Linked DNA regions of Homo sapiens: region 2 is linked to region 1. Evidence: promoter capture Hi-C in 16 types of primary human blood cells and fetal thymus (Javierre and others, 2016). All regions are on one chromosome and are shown on one strand. Each heading gives the region's core, a stretch centred on a gene start or on the middle of the fragment in contact. The rest is flanking DNA. Distances are from core to core; before and after follow the strand shown.

The links. The method cuts DNA at HindIII sites, captures the fragments that hold promoters and counts their contacts. A CHiCAGO score of 5 or more calls a contact.
Region 2: a fragment that was not itself captured here is called in contact with the fragment with the promoter of OTP in region 1 in 1 of 17 cell types (megakaryocytes); the score reaches 6.8 in megakaryocytes.

What each region holds. Positions count from the first base shown.
Region 1 is chr5:77,636,847-77,641,508 of GRCh38, forward strand. OTP (orthopedia homeobox) reads right to left here and starts at 1,867. Exons shown (of 3, transcript NM_032109.3): 1 at 1,667-1,867; 2 at 1-384. The coding sequence starts at 1,703. RefSeq lists enhancers at 1,853-2,409, 2,410-2,964. The HindIII fragment of the contact is 2,017 bases long and covers 872-2,888 here.
Region 2 is chr5:77,882,502-77,887,192 of GRCh38, forward strand. LOC101929154 (a long non-coding RNA gene) reads left to right here and starts at 2,155. Exons shown (of 2, transcript NR_105012.1): 1 at 2,155-2,324. The HindIII fragment of the contact is 2,488 bases long and covers 983-3,470 here.

The DNA.
Region 1 (4,662 bases), core at 617-3,116:
TACGCAGTGCCAGCTCCTCACGCATAAAGATGTCGGGGTAGTGAGTCTTGGCGAAGCTCCTCTCCAACTCGTTGAGCTGTGCGGGGGTGAAGCGCGTCCGGTGGCGCTTCTGCTTCTGTTGGCCCTGCTGCTGGCCGGCTTGGCTGGGGTTCGGGCCGCCCTGGGGCCCGGGCTGCTTGTCCGGGTCTTTGGCGCTCACCGCCAGCGAGGCCGGAGTAGAGCCCACTGTGGTGATGTCCTCCCCGGGCAGCAGAGTGGCTCCCTCCACTGGGTCAGAGTTGGGCGCCAGGTCCCCCGGATGGCCCCCGGGGTCGGAGCCCCCCACGCCCAGCCTACACTTCACCGCCTCCCGGTGGCCCAGAAGCTCGGCGGCATCTTTCATACCTGAGGAGGCAAGGGGATCGCGGTCACTACTTTCTTGGCGATGCCAGGAGGGGCTGTCTTCCCCGCGCAGCCTTCCTTCAACCCGTCCTCGGCCCCCTCCGCACCCGCGCTTGTCCTAAGGAAGAAACTCCCAGGGTATTCAGCTGGGTTCCCCAGAATTTGGACAGCCGGGTTGGAATAATATCTCCCGGCCCCTTGCCCTCGCCGCAGCCGGCTCCCGTAGTAAACAGCACAAGCTTTCGTCTCTCCCACAATAAAACACTCCCAGTCCCGGCAATAAAACATGCCTCTGAATCCCTTCCATAAACCGTACCCCAGGCGCCCCAGGAAATCGAGAGCAAATCTTTGGACACAGGGGTGCGGGGGGCAGAAAGAAAATTAAACAATTCCTCGGTTGCTGCGGCACCTGCGCTTCGGCAGCCTGACGAACTGTACCTCCGGCCCTCAGCCGATTCCCTCTTACTTTCGGAAGATGAATAAGCCTCCAAGCTTTCACCCCCCGAAATCAACCCAAATCAGCTCCGCCTCCCCCTCAAATCAGAGAAAGTGTTTGGAAAATGGAGTCACATCCATCACCGAAGATTCCCAATCCGGAAACCCAGAGCTCAGCAACCCAGATAGCATTAAGGAAACTCGAGTGAACTCTATGGACAACCGTGAATCAAACTTTAGAGATTTCAACTTTTCTTTCCAGAGAAATAAAAGGCGCATTCCTCACAGCCATTGGCAACGCTGAGTCCCTTGCAGAAGAGGGGGGGATGACTGTGAGGTTGAATTTGGCTTCTCTCCTTCTCAACCAGCACACTTAGCAAATCCGCCTTGATGGCAGCAGCTTCTCCTTTATGCCAGATTTTTTACAAATTACACCACACTTAGAAAAGGAGGAGAGAAGAAGATGGTGGGGAGAGAGAAACGGGGGGAGGGAAGGAGAAAGAAATCCCAAATCAAAACAAACAGGAGAGGGAAAAAAGAGAGAGAAACACCTCCTAACAAATTATCACGGGGTATATCGCCTTTCGAAAAAAAAAAAAAGGCGGGGGAGGGGGGAAGAGAAAAATAAGAAAAACAAAAAGTAACAACATTCCCCAACTCCTTTCTTGGATCTACATATTCCATAGATTTTTTTTTAAAGGCGATGTTAAATCAAATTAAACTTTAATGCAGCACAATTACTTTTAAAGAAATTAGTCCATTTAGGTCGCATTAAGGTAAAATAAGGAACAAATTGACAATTTCCTGCCCCGGCTTCTCCTGGCTGCCCGGGCGAGAGGCGCGCACTCACCTAGCCTGGCGTCCAGGAGGTCGGCATGAGACAGCATCGCGCACCGCTCCAGGGCGAAAGCTGTTCCCCCCCAAATTTTAGCGGCTTTAAGTTATTTAAAATAGATATAAGCTATAAGCTATACGATATAGATATATATAGATCACCTAAATGAAAGAAAATTCGGTTTGTGGTTAAAAAGGGGGCTTCTTGCATTATAATGTCCTTTAGAGAGACGGGGAGGTGCTTAACAGTTGAATGAACCCGTGAGCAGCTCGGCGAGGGGACCAATCAGGAGGGCAGCCTGCAAATGTCAGCGCCCGGAGAGTCCCCCACTCCGCCCGCCCGCTCGCCTGCGCCCGCCTGAAGGAGGCGGCGGCGGCAGCCCTGGCAGCTCCAGCCCGGAGCAGGAGCTAAAGCAGCCTCAGCCGCCTCGGCCTCGCCCTGAGCTTCTGGGCCCGGCTCCCTCTAGTTCTTCCCTGCGATTTTCTCCAGGCTCCCCTTTCCTTCCCCTTGGCCGGCGCTGCGCGCTTCGAAGGCGTAGCTCTGTGCCTCTGAGCTAACATCTTCCTAGGGCAGGGGCAGAGCAGGGGTCAGAGCGGGCCATGACCCTGGCGTGACCTGAGGGTCGCCCCCACCTGCGCTCTCTGGGCCTGCCGCTCATATTGGCCCGCCAGCCCAGGGCGCGACGAGGGCACACCGCGGCCTTCAGACAACGCCTGGACTTCGCCGCGGCTCAGTAGGCCTGCGCCTAGGGTCCAGGCGCCCTGGCTGTGCCCTGGGGTCTATACGAGCCCCAACCCCACAGTGGGCCTAGAGCGCAAAGAGGAGTCGGCTTCCCTGGCACCGCCAGCGCCCGCTGTCTGCTTTGGGGACCCTCGCGGAGTGTGGGTTCGAGCGCTCTGCACTCTTCTCACCGGGCTTCTTCCCGGCTCCTGCTCTTCCGCTTGGCCCACGCCCGCATCCTCGCCCCTAACTCGCTCTTTTGGTCAAAGTTTCTAAGTTCAGCTCGGCTCCCAACTCCACTTAAGGCTGTAAATAAAGTTAAATGCTCTTTATTTTCCTCTTGAATATGTTAAACTACTTGAACAATTTAAAGTGCTTTGCACAAGTGAAGCGAACCATTTCTAATGTTCTGATTTTTCAGAGCCAGCCAACAACAAAGTTTAGATTAGTAATATATTTCTAACCAGAGTAATTTTCAAGATCATTAGGCATTTATGTAATTAGTGCCAAATCTATAAGCTTTTATTACGATTATTAGAGTAAAATCAGTATAAATTTGTACTAATTTACTACTGTTTAGACTTGGCTGTCAAGCCTAGAGGTTCTTATTGTAAATGATAACTGAGGAAATTAAGTGCAAAATTCTGTACCATTTCTGATCTGCTCCTAAACAATCCGTTTCAATTGTATTTGTAGCAGAACATAATGCCCTTTTAAAGTTATTTGACTTGTATTTTTATTTGCAACACAAGAAAAATGCCCTCTACCCAGTCACAATGAAAACTGATATTTACTACTCCCAACTTGATTAACATTGATTTTTAATTCGAGAGTGATGCAATTAAGATTATTCATTTAGTGCAAATAAACCTTCCACAAAAGGGTGGCCCAATGAAGTCTGTTTTAAATAATACTGAGCAAATGGCTTTTTTTGTTCGCCGTCCAATTGACTTAGACAAAACATTGAAAATGCTGGCTGAGAGCAGATGCGAGAGGAATTGTGTGTGTGTGTGTGTGTGTGTGTGTGTGTGTGTGTGTCCTCAGCTGTATGTGTGACAGGGACCGAGCAAGGAGACAAAGGAGGCGGCAAAGCGAACTCTCGGGCAGTTTTGTTTCCTCCTTCCCTCCTGCAGCCCGTTCGCCTCCTCTCCTGCACACACACGTGCGCGCGCACACATATGCACACACGTGTGAATGCAGGGTATTGGCCACACCAGTTTCTTCTGAGCTGCGGAGACCGCTTCCCGGGAAGCTCCGGGCCGGACTGGGTTTCAGCGGCTGCTGCAGCTGCTACCAACGCGGCCTATGTGGGACTGGGCGCCGGGGTCGTGGACTCAGGCTCGCGGCGTGTCTGGGAGCCGCTAGGGTTTTTGGCAAGCGGCCGCAGCCCTTCTGAGAAACGCTTTGCCTGGGAGGAGAATTCCGAGACCTAAAGCAAACAAAGTCTCCCCAATAAAAGCTTTCTTTGCCCCCAAACAAAACCTCAAATCTAGAAGCTAGAGCGCTGGGAGCGCACAGCAAAAGGAGGCCAGACAGCAGCCCAGGGAGGGGCGGCGTGAGCTCAGGACGGTGACTCGGGAGTACGCACCGGCCCGCGCACGTCCAGGGACTCGCAGGAGGTTTCTGCCCACCTGGGTGGGGCTTGCAGGGTGTCCACACCGGAACGCAGGGTCAGAAGTGGGGGGAAAGTGGCTAAGGAAGAGACAGGGAGACCTGGCTCCAGAACCCTGCTCCCAGAAATAGGCAGGTCCGCCAGGCCGCACAGCCTGGCTCCACACGCTGTCTGGAGGGAGGGAGAAGGGGCCGCGACCTGGGGAGACAAGGATAAGGGCGCGGGGCCGCGCGTCTCCACGTGCGTGCACACAAGCGCTAGTGTCCCCATCCCACAGTCGCCCCCGGAACGGCGCCGGCTGTGCAGCGATCTCCCACACGCACTCGCTCGTATATTCTGTTTTGTTGTATCTTTCAGGTCGATAAATGAATGTGTAATAGTTAATGTGAAGACACATCAGAGTAATAACAATGGGACGAAATCAAAGGATTATCCATCTCTGTTAGTAACCGCTGAATAACAATGTTGCGGCATGATTGATAGCCCGCTTCATTTTATGACTTTTCTATTGGTCTTGATTTTTATAGCAGTATAAACAAACTAAATCATTTCTTGCAAGACTTCAGAGCATAAGCATCTCGGGGGGGGGAAGGGAGAAAGGAAAGAAAAAAAAAGGGAAATCTGAGAGTGGGAAGGGGGCGGTGTGGGGCGTCGAGGCGGGGAGGGCGCAGGCTGGAGT
Region 2 (4,691 bases), core at 977-3,476, 250 kb after region 1:
CAGGCTGGTCTCAAACTCCTGACTTCAGAGGATCCTCCTGTCTCAGCCTCCCAAAGTGCTAGGGTTCCAGGCATGAGCCACTGCGCCCTGCCCGGAGCCTTATGTTAACATGTCTATTACAGGACCTGACATGAAGAAGAGACTTAATAAAAGGTGATTGTCCTTCCCTTTTCTATGAAGCAGGAAGGGGAGCTATTATTATCTTCATTGTACAGAAGAGAAAGCTGAGGCCCAGAGAGATAAAGTGGCTTGCCCAGAGTTTCACAAATACAGGATTGGAGCCCCAACTTGTGCCTAGCTCTTTAACATACCACCTCACCAGCCCACACAGGAAGGCAATGACTGTGCACTGCAGATATTTGTGCAGGATGTGTATATTACATGATTTGGGGCTGACGCAACTTGTCTTGTACATATTGTTTTATGTGACTTTACTCTGCCTTTCTGCCTGTGCTGATCATGCCCCAAGAGCTGGGCCAGGCCTTGTGCCCTTGCAGAATCTGCCTCTGCAGCTCAGTGATAGTTGCTCAGCAAGTGCTGATCCACTAGCCCATTTCCTTCCTTCCTTCCTTCCTTCTTTCCTTCCTTCCTTCCTTTCTTTCTCTTTCTTTCTTTCTTCTTTTTTTTTTTTTGACAGAGTCTCGCTCCGTCACCCAGGCTGGAGTGCAACGGTGAGATCTCACCTCATTGCAAACTCTGTCTCCCGGGTTCAAGCGATTCTCCTGCCTCACCCTCCCAAGTAGCTGAGATTACAGGTGTGCGCCACCATGCTTGGCTAATTTTTGTATTTTCAGTAGAGGCGAGGTTTCATCATGTTGGCCAAGTTGGTCTCGAACTCCTGACCTCATGATCTACCCACCTCGGCCTCCCAAAGTGCTGGGATTACAGGCATGAGCCACCTTGCTCTGCTGACCATTTTCAAGTGCTTGCAAATCTGTCCACCCAGAGAGGACATAGTAGCACATTTAATAATTAAGAGAAAAGCTTGGTTTTCAGGAACTTTGTCATCTGAGTTTGATAATTATGAAGGGTATAAGAATTCATTTTATGGTATGGTAGGAAAAGAATAACACTACCTAAAATGCTCAGATGATTTATTAAGGGTTCTTATTTGTAGGGACAGCCTCCCATTTTTCTCTCATGTGATGTCCAGCAGGTGGTTCTGACCTGACTAGTACACATTCTTTAACTAAAGACAGAGCACTGCTAGGCGGCAGACACAGACCTGTGCCCCAGGCTGTAATGGTGAGACAGGCATAATCCCTGATCATGGAACCTATGGGCACAAGGCAGTCAACAGTTAAATACACACAATATTTATAAGTTACAATGAATTAAACGAAGGAAAAGACGAGGAACTAAGAGACAGCCTAATTGGAGGATCTCATTTAGATTGGGAGGCTGGGGAAAGTCTCCATGAAGAAGTGTTATCTACACTGAAACCTGAGAAAAGTTGGTAGAATTCAGGCCAAAAGTGGGAGAAGGAGCATTTCAGACAGAGGGATCAACCTTGTGGAAGCCCTGTGGTGGGAGAGAGCTTAGAATTGAAATGAGGTTAGGGGCCACCACAGGGAAACTGGAGACACATAAGTGATGGGAGCTTGGCCAGGACCAACTTCCTGTAGGCATTCCAATTGCAATTGCCATTTATAAGTTTTCAGCAGATAAATCATATGGTCGAACTTAGGTCCTAACACATCTGTCTACTGCTAAATAGAAGAATGGGTGCCACTTAAGAATGGGTTCAATGTAACGAGGGCAAAAGTAGAAGTGAGGAGACCAGCTGTGAGGCTATTGCAGTGGTCCTGGTGTAGGATGTGGGTGGCTTGGACTTGGGTAATGGCAGTGAATTGACAGACATGAGTGAAACTGTGAGATGTTTTAGGAGTAGAATTGTTAGGACATGCGGATCAACTGTATATACAGAGTGAGAAAGGGAAAGGGTACTCTCGTGTTTCAGGGTGTCTGAATTGGTTTACTGATATCTGGGGGGATCAGAAGAGTTCAGGTCCAGCCAGGTTGCAATTGAGATGCCTCTGAGACATCCAATAGGAGGATGTCATTGGATACAGGAGTTAGGAGCTTAGATACACACTTGGGAGAACTCGGCACAGGTGGTATGAAAGTGGTGGGCTGGTGAGATTGCCTAGGGAGAGAAAACACGGAGAGGAGTCCCAGGGCTGAGCCCAGACCTCTGAACAGAAGAAGGAGTCATGGAGAAACCCAGAAGAATGAGGTGTCACAGGCAAAGAAAAATTGGATGCTCCGGAAGGAGAGAGGTCTGTCTCACGAAGAGAGATAAAAGCAGCTGGGACCACATAGAGGTAATTGTTGATGCTGATGAGAGAAGAGGGCGGAGGGTGGAAAAGGAAGGGAGCCACTGAGCTGAGAATGGGAGACAGGAAAGAAACAGCATTCTGTGGTCAGCCTGGTGAGAAATGTGGCTCTCAGAAAGCAGAGAGAGAACAGTTGGAGGAGCTCATGGGCACACGGGGGATGTCTGACTGGTTGTGTTTTCTGTTGGAAAATATTAGAGCTCCTCTGTGTGTTAGGGAAGGGTCAAGTAGAGAGGGCAAGGGAGAAGATGCTGGAATGAGGAGAGCCAAGGTCCTGAGGACACCTGACCTTGGCACTACACAGGACCTGCAGCCCAGACGCTTCCTAAGCAAGCCTCTTGCCTGGGGAATAAAGAGCTGATTTTTCCAGTGACTTCATGGGCACTGGGGTCCTATGGAACCTCTAAGGGGAAGGAGCAAGAGAAACAGATGTTCTTTCTTCCCTGTAGAGGGAGGAAGAGGGAAGACAAAGATGAAAAAGGGAAGAAAGGAGGAAGGAAGGGAGAAAGGAGAAAACAAAGATGGCCAGTCTTCTCTTCTCCCCAGGTGGTTGGGATAACAGCGAGGCCAAATCCCAGATGATATGGGGGAGGGCTGCAACCTCTCAGGAGGGCTGTCTCCCCCAGAAAAAGCCTAGGACTTACCTAGACTTAGGAGGTTGTCATCAAGCCTTGTCTTTCCTGCAGACCTCAACGTCTTGTCAGTCCAGAAAAACTTCAAGGGCAGCAGCCAGAATCCCAGGGCTGAGAAACCTGACTTTCCTCTCTTTGTACCTCCCAATTCCCCTCCTAGGTCCTGAGCCACAGGGAATTGTGTGATTTCAATGAGCTATGGCAAGAGCATTTTCCCTTCCCATCAACTCAGTCACGTTTCCTGTAGTGGAGACGGGAGCATGGGGAGGGAGGAGCGGGAGAAAGAAGGCTTACCCTGGCAGTATTCATTCACTCTCTGAGGCATGAGATTTGATTACCAGTCTTTTAACATGCATGACAGCAAATGCTAATATTTGCCACAGAATTTTCTAGCCACCTTTTAAATCCATCTACAGTGTTAGGCTCTTTGACCCCTAGAGGTAGGGAATGCCACAGGCTGCCTTCATGCTACTGAACGTTGTTGCCTCCTCTATAGCAATAAAGCTTTTCTTGAAATATAAGGCATAAGAACAAAGAAAATTCCAGATTTCTGGGAGTAAATACTACAGTTCATTAAACCACCTGCTTACTTCATACAAGCTAGCAATGACTCTCCAGTCTCCCGCCTAAAACTCCAGTTAGTCTTCTGTGCATGAGATGTCTTTTCTATTGTGATTGCCATTCTTGGCTCATTGTTTGAAAAGGGATATTACAAATAAAAATAACAACCATCCCTGGTTAATATGCTTATTACTTTACACATCTTTCTCAACTTTTTCCAAACTTACTGGTAGACCAGAAAGAAATCTAACTTCTTTTAGGCTTGAGTTCCATTGTCTAAAAGTAGTAACCATTTTCTTTCTTTCTCCCTTTTTCTTTTCTTTTCTTTTTTTTCTTTTGAGAAGAAGTTTTGCTCTTGTTGCCCAGGCTAGAGTGCAGTGGTGCAATCTCGGCTCACTGCAACCTCTGCCTTCCAGTTTCAAGTGATTCTCCTGCCTCAGCCTCCCAAGTAGCTGGGATTCCAGGCGCCTGCCACCACACCCTGCTAATTTTTGTATGTTTAGTAGAGACGGGGTTTCACCATGTTGCCCAGGCTGGTCTCAAACTCCTGACCTCATGATCTGCCCACCTCGCCCTCCCAAGGTGCTGGGATTACAGATGTGAGCCACTGCGCCTGGCCAGGTATGACCATTTTCTAATGTTTAGGAGGAGGGGAGCTTGGGGGCAGTATCTAAAACTGTCAGCTAGAGGAGGGGCAATCTTGAAGTTCAAAAGCAGGAGACACCCCAGATCTCCTTCTGCAGAGCTTTAACATCCCACCTCTCACTGCTTCTTGTAATATTCATCAGAGTCGTAAAAACTATTATCCAGCATAATATCTTTTAAATTGTTGGCAAAGAGTCACTTTAGAAGAGTGGCCTCCCTCTGCTCCCTTCCCGCCCCCTCCCAGATGGACCAGTGCTGTTTGTTAGGACGGCTTTGTTCCTCGTTGTTCAACTACACCTGGCATAGTGCTTTGCTCTGTCATAAGGCCATTTCAAAACACTCCCTCTTTGTAACGTAAGCTTTGCTCGTGCTGAAACCTTGCCTTTCATTTGCTCTCCACAGCACTTGTCACACTGCATAATATAACCTAGACAATAGTGGCATACAAAGAAATAACAACTGAACATAACCATCCACTATGGAACCACTAATGAGTGCCCTACCTTTTGAAGGCTTC